Linked DNA regions of Homo sapiens: regions 2, 3 and 4 are each linked to region 1. The links are contacts of gene promoters, found by promoter capture Hi-C in human tissues and cell types (Jung and others, 2019). All regions are on one chromosome and are shown on one strand. Each heading gives the region's core, a stretch centred on a gene start or on the middle of the fragment in contact. The rest is flanking DNA. Distances are from core to core; before and after follow the strand shown.

The links. Contacts are between HindIII fragments. The study calls those that stand out against the background at their distance.
Region 2: a contact is called between a fragment that was not itself captured here and the fragment with the promoter of NDUFA12 in region 1, in 1 of the 25 tissues and cell types used here (lymphoblastoid cells).
Region 3: a fragment that was not itself captured here is called in contact with the fragment with the promoter of NDUFA12 in region 1 in 1 of the 25 tissues and cell types used here (H1 embryonic stem cells).
Region 4: a contact is called between a fragment that was not itself captured here and the fragment with the promoter of NDUFA12 in region 1, in 1 of the 25 tissues and cell types used here (small bowel).

What each region holds. Positions count from the first base shown.
Region 1 is chr12:95,002,389-95,005,273 of GRCh38, reverse strand. It overlaps NDUFA12 (NADH:ubiquinone oxidoreductase subunit A12), which reads left to right and starts at 1,577. Exons shown (of 4, transcript NM_018838.5): 1 at 1,577-1,679; 2 at 2,453-2,535. The coding sequence starts at 1,594. RefSeq lists enhancers at 1,455-1,854, 1,319-1,946. The HindIII fragment of the contact is 12,199 bases long and covers 1-2,885 here.
Region 2 is chr12:94,569,928-94,572,700 of GRCh38, reverse strand. TMCC3 (transmembrane and coiled-coil domain family 3) reads left to right here. Exons shown (of 4, transcript NM_020698.4): 4 at 964-2,773. The coding sequence ends at 1,266. MIR7844 (microRNA 7844) reads left to right here and starts at 1,349; the gene lies at 1,349-1,470. The HindIII fragment of the contact is 6,963 bases long and covers 1-2,773 here.
Region 3 is chr12:95,296,992-95,299,929 of GRCh38, reverse strand. The region is part of intron 11 of VEZT (vezatin, adherens junctions transmembrane protein); the gene reads right to left. Among named protein-coding and RNA genes, the nearest start is that of MIR331, 10 kb to the left of the region's middle. The HindIII fragment of the contact is 4,254 bases long and covers 1-2,938 here.
Region 4 is chr12:95,319,394-95,322,293 of GRCh38, reverse strand. No RefSeq gene overlaps it. Among named protein-coding and RNA genes, the nearest start is that of MIR3685, 11 kb to the right of the region's middle. The HindIII fragment of the contact is 3,360 bases long and covers 1-2,900 here.

The sequences.
Region 1 (2,885 bases), core at 328-2,827:
TGGGGATTCCTATAAAAATAAAAAATAAAATTTCCATATGATCTAGCAATCCACTTCTGGGTATATATCCAAAAGAACTGAAAACAGGATCTTAGAGATATCTGCACACCCGTGTTCACTGCAGCATTATTCACAATAGCCAAGAGGCGGAATCAGCAGAAATGTTTATGGACAGGTAACTGGGTGGCATATACATACAGTGGAATATTATTCAACATTTATAAAAAGAAGAAAATCCTGTCATATACTACACTATGGATGAGCCTTGTGGATATCATGCTAAGTGAAATAAGCCAGGTCCTAAAAGACAAACACCTCATGATTCTACTTATATGAAGTATCTAAAGTAGTTAAACTCTTAGAAACAGAAGTAGAATGGTGGTTGGCAGGGGATGGAGAAAGAGGAAAAAGTTGTTCCATGGATATAAAGTTTCTGTTTTGCAAGAAGAATAAGTTCTAGAGATCTGTTGCGCAACAATGTGCATGTGGTTAACACTACTGTACACTTAAAAATGGTTAAAATGGTAAATTTTATATTTTGTGTTTTTAACCACCACTACCAAAAAAAAAAAAAAAAAGCTAGGGAACTAAATTGTTATTTTGAAAACACACATAAGGGAAAGAATCGGCTGGGTGTGGTGGCTTACACCTGTAATCCCAGCATTTTGAGAGGCTGAGGCAGGAGGATCACTTGAGGCCAGAGTTCAAAACCAACCTGGGCAACATAACAAGATGCCCATCTCTAAAAAAAAAAAAATTAGCCAGGGGTGGTGGCACTTACTTAAATGGGAGGACTGCTTGAGCACAGGAGTTTGAGGCTGCAGTGAGCTATGATCACACCACTGTATTTCAGCCTGGGTGACAGAGAGCCTGTCTCTAAAATTAAAAAACAAAAAAAAAGTAAGAGAATCAAGCACCCATACTGCCTTTCCTACATTAATTGTATCTCAGGAGCCAAATAGTTGAAGGGAGGTTTCTCTTTGTAGAAGAATTGTGGTTAACAAATGAAGTAATATTGAAATTTTTTAGGCTCAAGCGATGCTCCCATCTAAGCCTCAGCCTACCGAGTAGCTGGGACTACGGGCACGCGCCACCACATCCAGCTAATTTTTAATTTTTTTTTTTTTTTTGTAGAGACAGAATTCTCGCTGTGTTGGCGAGGCTGGTCTCGAACTCCTGGGCTCAAACGATCCTCCCTACCCGGCCTCCCAAAGTGCTGGGATTACAACAGTGAGCCACCGCGCCCACCAGAGCCAATTATTTTTAGATGAGGAAACTGAAATTCCCAAAGGGGGAATCCCCGTGTGAGAAAGCCTCGTGTAGGTGAGCTTTCCAGCATATGCCCGCCTTCTAGATTTAACCTCTGAAAACTAAATTTTAAGGTACCTTTGCTTCCAGGGGAAACCAATTCTGCCTACTTGGGAAGCCAGAACATGACCGCGTAGGCAAGACCTAGCTCTGCGCACGCGCAGAGCCACCACGTCTGGCGTTCGCGTGAGAACCTTCTGGGCGTGGGCTTCCTGCGGCTGAGTGGCAGCTTCCATCCGGTGGGTTTTGCTCGGCGCACCCGGGAGGCGGGGCCAGCGAGGCAAGATGGAGTTAGTGCAGGTCCTGAAACGCGGGCTGCAGCAGATCACCGGCCACGGCGGTCTCCGAGGCTATCTACGGGTTTTTTTCAGGTAGGCGGCCAGAGCCATGCTCTTGGCCTCTGGGGCTGGACTTTCGCTGGCTGATTTCTTGGAAGGGGTCCCAGGCTCGGGTCACCTTGGAGAATCCACAGCTCTTGTCAAGGACAACCGCCCCAATCTCTGCCTTGCCACCCCCAGGCTGGTCTCTGTCCCATATATCCCCGATACAAGACCGAAGCTATCTGTAGAGTCAGAGCTGTGACTCGGAGGCAAGGGCATCTGGGCTCCCCTCTTTTCCCACGCCCTGGAGAGTAATGAGGATTACAAGACATTAACTCAGTGACCCTGGTAAAGTTTTTTTCCCTGCACTGCCGTACAGTTCCTTGTCTGTAAGGCGTTGAAGGTAATAATGATGGTCCCTTCTCTTCCTGACATTCACTGATCCCACGAGCAGCATAGTTTCGCAGAAACCTAAATGGAGACCCAGAGTGGAATGAAAGAGCCTGGAGACCTTCGTATCATTGTAAGAAGATGAAATACTTTGGCTTTTTGATTTCCTAAAGGTTTTGCTAATTCCAGTGCCTCCTGGCTGAGGGATAGTAGATACAAGTAGTCCTGTAATCTGAAGAGACTACATTTATATTTTTAGTGTAATTTGAGCACATCAGTTGTCAATTCATCTTTTCCCATCCCCAGCACTTCTTCATTTTGCTAGTTGATGCAGCAGCCCTTGTGTCTGAAAGTTGTTACTCTCACTTTATTTCCGTTTATGTTTTGAACTAAGAATCATTCTAAAATGTCTGTTTTCTTTTGGGTATTCACAGGACAAATGATGCGAAGGTTGGTACATTAGTGGGGGAAGACAAATATGGAAACAAATACTATGAAGACAACAAGCAATTTTTTGGTGAGTGCAGTATTTTTTAGTATGAATAATTGGATTGGGATTGGGATTTGATTTGAGTCTATTTTCCATATTATGCAATGAGCTTTTACAAAACACCTGGAAAAGGATGAAAAACTCAATAGAAAATGAAAAAAGATAATTTACAGAAAAAAGAAAAGTAAACAGCCAATGAAGGTATGGAAAAATGCTCATTCTCACTTGTAACAACAGAAATGCAACTTTAAAAACAGTGTTATATATTTTTCACCTATCAAATTTTGAAGTGTTTTTGTTCTTTTTTTTTTTTTTTTTTTTTTTTTTTGAGATGGAGTCTCTGTCGGCCAGGCTGGAGTGCAGTAGCGCGATCTCGG
Region 2 (2,773 bases), core at 200-2,699, 430 kb after region 1:
TGGAACCTCCCTCCTTCTCTGCTTTGTCCCTGATGGCACCAACAGGCACCAATATTTTATATCACTTTATTTCAAAAATAGGTAAAGTCAGGCTGGGCATGGTGGCTCACGCCTGTAATTCCACCACTGTGGGAGGCCATGGCAGGCAGATCACTTGAGGTCAGGAGTTTGAGACCAGCCTGGCCAACATGGTAAAACCCTGTCTCTACTAAAAATACAAAAATTAGCCAAGCGTGGTGGCGTGCACCTGTAATCCCAGCTACTCAGGAGGCTGAGGCAGGAGAATTGCTTAAACCCAGAAGGCAGAGGTTGCAGTGAGCCGAGATCACGCCACTGCACTCCAGCCTGGGTGACAGAGTGAAACTCTGTCTCAAAAAAAAAAAAAAAAAAAAAAGATGAAGTCGGCTGGGCATGGTGGCTCACACCTATAATCCCAGCATTCTGGGAGGCCGAGGTGGGCCGATCACGAGGTCAGGAGATCGAGACCTTCCTTGCCAATATGGCGAAACCCCATCTCTACTAAAAATACAAAAATTAGCCAGACATGGTGGTGCGCACCTGTAGTCCCAGCTACTTGGGGGGCTGAGGCAGGAGAGTTGCTTGAACCCAGGAGGCGGAGGTTGCAGTGAGCTGAGATCGCACCACTGCACTCCAGCCTGGCGACAGAGCAAGACTACATCTCAAAAAAAACAGGTAAAGTCAAAAAACTTAGCCATACTTCCTCATTTATGGTATTTTGTGGTTGTATCCACATGCTCTTCTACTCGTGAACAACAGGAGAAAATGAGCCTGGGATTCTTGTTCCACATCTTTGTCTATCACCATCATCATCGGTTTGGGGATTTGCAGCCGCCTGGGCATTGGGCTTTCTGAGCTGGGGCTTTTGTGTACAGCTGAGCGAGCACTCACGTGTTGCTCACCATCCCAACACCGTTTGACCCTTGCTCTCCCTCTTGCTCACAGGAAGCCTTGGAATCCTGCCAGACTCGCATTTCTAAGCTGGAGCTCCACCAGCAAGAGCAGCAAGCTCTGCAGACAGACACCGTGAATGCTAAAGTTCTCCTGGGGAGGTGCATCAACGTGATCCTGGCCTTCATGACTGTCATCTTAGTGTGTGTGTCCACCATCGCGAAGTTCGTCTCACCCATGATGAAGAGTCGCTGCCACATTCTTGGCACCTTCTTTGCCGTGACTCTTCTTGCTATATTTTGTAAAAACTGGGACCATATCCTGTGTGCCATAGAAAGGATGATAATACCAAGATGAAGCCACTGGTTCCTGCCTTCAAGTTCTTTCAAGTTTTTATTTTAAAGAAAACTCTGTGCATACTACCAAATTTTACAGTGAATGATTGTGCGGACTCGTGTGTAAGAAAAACTAGGACTGTGTGGTGTAAATAACTACAATTCTCTTAACTCCGTAGCAGTTGCCAACTCAGTCCTTGTACTTCGTTAACACGAATCTGTTTCAGAGCTCTCCTACCTTGCTCACTGCCTTAATCAGACCGATTTCCTGCCCACCTGACCAGCCCAGCGTGGTAAACCTCTGTATATTGAGACCTTGGCATAATTGGTGATCCTGAAGAAAGAGGTCTCTCTCCTAAGTCTCTGTCAGAATTGAGCTTCACAATTGCTAATGGTTGTTTTCTGTGAGTCCTATAAAAAGCAAGGATATGCATGATTCAGGGAATGAAGAATCACAGGCTTGGGCAGTGTTAAACACTGTGGCCTATGGTCCCCGTGTGATCCACCCTGCTTCTCTCCAGGGGACCATAGGTCCCGTCATGTACTCAGTGTCCACAGCAGTCAGTCGTGTATGACCCTGTAACGTGGAAATCTTATCACACACCTGTTATCCAACAAGTCTACCTGAGGGGTTTTGTTACACTTTAAATGGGAAGGCATAGGGATTTATGAATGGGGCTTTCACCTTCTCATACCCAGGCAACCAACACCTGATTTTGTCTCAACTGGCTAGCAAATGCCCAGCCTTCAGAGTGTGCAGGAATGTTTTCAAATCCCTCATCAGACTGTGACTTTAACATTAATTTGGAATCCTGTGAGCACTACTCTGAAGGTTTGTGTTTTGGCAAATCTTTTTTCTTTTTTGAGACAGGGCTCTGCTAAATATTGCTCAGGCTGGTTGCAAACTCCTTGCTTCAAGGGATCCTCCCACCTCAGCCTCCCAAGCAGCCGGGACTGCAGGCACAAGCCACCATGCCTGGCTGTTTTTTGGCAAATCTTGATTGTGATAAGCCCCCCTGGAGGATATGATTCACTTTATGTGATTCATCTTATTCACAGGTCTGTGAGGGACTGCAAAGCTTACTCAGGAAATGAAAACAAATGATGGTCATGTTGCAGTTTTTTCCTTGAAGGACAACCGAACCATAGCCTCTAAAGTTCAAGTGCACTGAGGTGTCGGAACGCTGAAAGCATGAGGAAACGAGGACGTAGGGTGTGACTGAATGGTGGCTAGATTAGTGGGAGCAGTTCACCTGGATGAAGATTGAGAGCATCGTCTTTGAGAAGTGAAAGACTAGCAAGAATAAAATAAATTAAGTCCAGTGTTTGAGCCAAGGTTGCCACCTGTCTCTTAACATCTCACTGAACATAAGTCCTGAGGTATTAGGACGACCATACTGCCTCTGAGCTGAAAACATTCAAAAGTTCACATCCCTGTTTGGGGGATACCATTCACCGCCTTCAGCCCAGATGATACTTTCCTTTAAATCTGTGTCTCTGTGTGTATAACAAAGAGGAAGATGGAAACA
Region 3 (2,938 bases), core at 420-2,919, 290 kb before region 1:
ACATATTATCTTATTTAAAATATTAAAGCAGTGGTTCTGAAAGTGTGTTCCCTGAACCAACATTATCAGTTATCACCTAGGAATTTGTTAAAAATGCAAATTCTTGGGCCTGATCCCAGACCTCCTGAAATGGAAACTCTGGGAGTAGGGACCAGCTATATTTTACAAGCCCTCATCTTGATTCTGATACACACTAAAGTTTGAGAACCATTGTATTAGGGAATAAGCAGCATGGTTTTCACTGATAATACATCAGATAAAAGGCTTAAAGTAATCTAGATAATAATAATATCTTCCATATGTATACATATATATTTACAAGTTAAAACAGCATGGAAAAAAATGCAACATACAATTTAACTTACTTGCCAACCACCTAACAAGACCCTAATGAAAGAAAAGCCATAACTTCTACACATTTTGTAGTACCACGAAAAATACAAATGAAGTCTGCATTCAAGATCAACTATTGTACAAAATATAATACATAAATATAATATATATTCATACGGTAGAAGTTGTCCTTGCAAGGAAAATGCAGTTTTATTTAGCCCCTCTTGATGTTAGTAGGCAGTGGGTTGCTTGCTAGGCAGTCGCTCATCCCAGCATGAGGGGTTAGTACAATACAATATAGTATGAAGCATGACGGAAGGAAAAAAGTGCTTCTCGAAGAGCTGGCGTGTATTTAAAAAACGTTTTTGTAAAATGTGTCCACTTCCAGGAACCATCCCTAAGCTGCAGTAACTCCACTAGAGAAGCAGCAACAACAGAAAAAAAATGGCCACAGCAGGTTCCAGTGCAGACTTTCCCCCTCTAATTCCATGCGGACTTTACCCCTGTAGGCAGAGATGAAAACAGCTCTGGAAGATGTACTGAAATTTTTCATGGGAAAAGCATTCTATGGTATCAGCAGCTTTTTACTTATTTTCACAAACTAAAACAGCATTATGACCCTTTCCAATGTAAACTATATCAAAAGCACATACCTGAAAAAGAGACACATTTCTCTCATTGATAAATCTTTCCCATAATGTCAATAGCATAATTTTAAAGCTATATGAAGAAACACTAAACAATAAAAAAGGATATAAGTTTATATACAATGCTATTTTCAATATATGTACATTCTTAGTTTATAAATCTGTTAGCTCTTAAAGGAAGCAACATATATTAGAAGTTGGTTGATAGTTCACAATTATTACTAATTAAATGGGGTGGATATAATCTGAGTAATGAGAGGATCAATTGACGAGTGTGTTAGAATTTAAGCCTTGAGGCAGGTAGGAGGCTTTACATTTTGTCTCTTGATCTTTGCGCTAGGGATACAGCAGTAAACAGTGCCTGACATATAACAAGTACCTAATAACTACTTGTTGAATGAGTAATTTGCTGAATGAATGCTGTGGGATAATAAGGCCCCTATTTAAGAAGACTGTAATTTTGTTACAGAGACAAACAAAACAAAACAAAACAAAACCCTGAACATATAGAAAACAACAGTGCCTAAAATTAATCTCTGATGTATGTAGGCCCAGTATATGAATGAACAGATTGCAGGAAATCAATCTGTTAATCATTTCCCTTCTCTGCTATATGCTTTGGGGTTCAAGACTTCCTTTATATTTTATCACAATGTTCCTCTAGTGTGAGGGTCTGTAGTGTTAGGAGAGGCGGCAGAGCTGGAGCACTCAGAGAAGGATTCATGGAGAAGGAGAGACTAGTAGAGAGGACAGCTTGGTGGAGAAGGCAGAATTCTTGGTAAAGGGGTAAGCATGAATTATTATTATTATTATTATTATTATTATTTTTTGAGAGAGAGTCTCACTCTGTCACCCAGGCTGGAGTGCAGTGGTGCGATGTCGGCTCACTGCAACCTCCACCTCCCAGGTTCAAGCGATTCTCCTGCCTCAGCCTCCAGAGCAGCTGGGATTATAGGTGTGCGCCATCACACCTGGCTAATTTTTGTATTTTTAGTAGAGAGGGGGTTTCGCCATGTTGGCCAGGCTGGTCTTGAACTCCTGACCTCAAGTGATCCACCTGCCTTGGCCTCCCAAAGTGTTGGAATTAGAGGCGTGAGCCACTGTGCTTGGCCAGCATGAATTTTTTTCATGAATAAAAATAACACATTTGTGAACTGTAGTTTAATTCGATAAACATAAGAAGATATCTATAGTAAAAACAGTAGAAAATATAATTGGATAGATGAATTCTTATGATGAAGAGACTTGAAAACAGGAAAAAGAGTTTAGATTCAACACAATAAGAAAGGGAGAAACCACTATAGGTTTTAAGATAGAGAGCCATCATCAATGCAGTGTTGGAGAAAAATCTGCAAAGAGTTTGCAAGATAGCTTAGAAGAAAAAAGTACTGAAAATGGAAGTCAGCTAAGAAGGTATTTTAATGTACAAGGATAATCTACTGAGGACCTGGGCTATAAAGGGGGCCAATGGGAAGAAAGAGGAATGATAAAACCAAGAAATGCAGATCTGGACAGGAGAAAACATAGGGCTCCTGAGGGGAAAAAAAAAAAGAGAACTGGAGGAACTTTCCAGAAGTATAGGTAATCTATGTACTTCTAGTGAGGAGGGAAAAGCAGGGCAGTTGATTTCGAGGGTCCACACAGATACTGTAAAATGGAAGAGAATCCACACTCTACCTACTTAGAAATCCATAGGCATTAATTCAACTAAGAATTAGCTAGGTTGATACTGTCAAGTATTAAGCTTCCCCTGATTCCTTCCCTGTCTCCCATGAAGTTTGACTTAAGAAAAGAAGGGTGAGAAACAGAAAGGAATGTAAGGCTTTTGTATTACCAGCTACCCCACTCTGCTGAAATCAGAGTATGGGGAGTACGCCCACAGGCACCCTGCTCCCCTCCCATCTACTAAAGTGCTCAAACCACTTAAATAATGCTAATGATGTGGCTCACTGGTCTAG
Region 4 (2,900 bases), core at 252-2,751, 320 kb before region 1:
TACAACCTTGTGAATATAGTAAAAACCACTGAATTTGAATTTTTAAAAGGTTGAAAAAAAAGGACCTCATCCCCAATGCTCCCTCAAAAAAAAAAAAAAAAAATAACAAGAAGGATGTAGTCAGACATCAAGGTTAAGAGTGTCATAAAAATTATTTTTGCTGTAGAGGAAGTGAACTGATTTTCATGGAGCTGTACAAATAGCACACAAACTAGAAATCTGTTTGGCTCAGCCAGCAAATGTTCCCGAATAAATTATTCTGTATCAAAGCTCAAAGGTTTCCTTCCTTTTTGAATTTCTAAATGTACCTTCTAATTATAAATACATTGAACAACAAGGAAGAGGTAGTGACAAAAAAAATTGACATTCTTCCTCCTAGTGTTATCCTCCACTCCACTTAACAGGCATGCAGGTCTGTGTTTTGTTTCTTAATCAACCAAAGATCTTTAGTTGCAAGCAACAGGAACCAATTCTGATTAACCTAAGTGGGGTGTTGGTTTAAAGGATTTAGGGCAATTTACAGAGTCAAAGACAGCCTTCATCAGCTCCTTGGTAAAACCCTGGGAGAGGCGGGAGCCAGGGCAGCCTCAATAATCTCAGCAGCAGACACTCTGCACCCTTCTTTCCAGGGCGCTGCTTCCAGATGGCATCAACTTTTCATGTTGTCTATCTTGGAAAGTTTCTGCTTCAGATGCAGCCCATAAGAGATAAAGTCTGATTGGCCTCACTGATAAAGTGAGATATAATGTGAGCCTGATTTGACTCACCTGTGCAATCACATGCAAAATCACGTGTTTAGCCATGAGCTCTAGTTTGGAAAAGTCTTCATAGGTGCCTATCCTAATTCCATAGTGTAACATGAATAGAAAGGCATAGCTGTTGAGAGATCAATGACTTTGAAAGTTTGCTTCCTATTAGGTTGGTGCAAAGTAATTGCATACTTTTAATGGTAAAAACTGCAATTACTTTTGCGGCAACCTAATATAACACTGCTAGTTAGGAAGGTTGGGTGACACTTCCATTAGGGCTTTTACAGGGGAAAGTATTGAGAGTGAAATTGATTGCTCTTTATTCTTCTAAGTAAATTACCTTTTCTCCACTTTTTCCTGCATGATAACAGAGAGAGTGGCTAGAAAAATCAAGGAAATGTGGCCAGGCGCGTTGGCTCACATCTGTAATCCCAGCACTTTGGGAGGCAGAGGCAGGCAGATCATGAAGTCAGGAGATCAAGACCATTCTGGCTAACATGGTGAAACCCTGCCTCTACTAAAAAATCAGCAGGGCATGGTGGCATGCGCCTGTAGTCCCAGCTACTCAGGAGGCTGAGGCAGGAGAATCGCTTGAATGCAGGGGGCGGAGGTTGCAGTGAACCAAGATCGTGCCACTGCACTCCAGCCTGGGCAACAGAGACTCTGTCTCAAAGAAAAATCAAGTAATTGAAGCTTAGGACAGGGAGAATTCACACAAACAGAATATGCTTGAAAGCTAAACAGCAGTTTCACTTTTAACACCTTACCCAGTGAGAGCCGTACAAGATGGGCCACAGAAACATAAATACTTATAGCTATTTTTATGGGCCCCTAGTTCTCCTCTAAAAAACAAAATAAATACTGCATGGAGTTTAAGAAAAGAATTAATCTGTTCAGGCGTGGTGGCTCACGCCTGTAATCCCAGCACTTTGGGAGGCCAAGGCGGGCGGATCATGAGGTCAGGAGATGGAGACCATCCTGGCCAACAAGGTGAAACCCCATCTACACTAAAAATACAAAAATTAGCTGGGCGTGGTGTTGCATGCCTGTAATCCCAGCTACTCGGGAGGCTGAGGCAGGAGAATTTCTTGAACCCGGGAAGCAGAGGTTACAGTGAGCCAAGATCATGCCACTGCACTCCAGCCTGGCAACAGAGCAAGACTCTGTCTCAAAAAACAGAGTTTGTAAACAAAACAAAACAAAACAAAACAAAACAAAACAAAAAGAATTAATCTGAAGAAAACCAACTAATAATTAGACAATTACAAATAATTGAATTTTTCATTCTGTTTTCTTTCCAAGTCTAGTACCTCCTTCAGTGTGGCTTTGAACTCTTCAAAGTTCACTCTAAGTATGTGAGTCTGGTACCATGGAGACCAGTACAAATATCTAGAAGCAGGTGGTTTGGGCATGTCTGGTTTGAATCTGAGGAATTAGAATGCAGGTTCTCCTTGGCAAGGAGGCCTATCTTATAAAGCTGCATTGAGAGGTTTTTCTGTGACTGTATGGCAAGTCAACAGGGATGTGGTTATCAAAACAAGTTTAAGAACTTAGGGGTCAGTTATTGGTAAGAAACAGAGATTTCATCATGCTGAGCTTTGGGGAATGGTCACAGTGTTAAAGGGGGGCTGGATGGTCACAGAGAGAAGGGAAATGGAAGTCCTCTCTTAATGTGGATATACTTAGTAACTTCCCTCACCAAATCCCACCAGCCAAACATGGTATGTGAGCAGCCAGTCACCCTGTAGTCCCATTTCCAGTTTCTGCTTTTAGAGGCATGTTTGAACAGAGGCTTACATGTCTTCTACTTGGAGCCTTAAGAAAAAGCTTTTCGTAGACTGAGAGAAAAACCAGTACCTACCAAGGAAGTATGAAAATCTGATTGACATTGATGTCGTGATAGTTTTTTTTTTTTTTTTGAGACAGAGTCTAGCTCTGTCACCCAGGCTGGAGTGCAGCAGCATGATCTTGGGTTACTGCAACTGCTGCCTCCCAGGTTCAAGCGATTCTCCTGCTTCAGGCTCCCGAGTAGCTGGGATTGCAGGCATGCACCACCACGCCCAGCTAATTTTTATATTTTAGTACAGACGGGGTTTCACCATGTTGGCCAGGTTGGTCTTGAACTCCTGACCTCAGGCGATCTGCCCACAT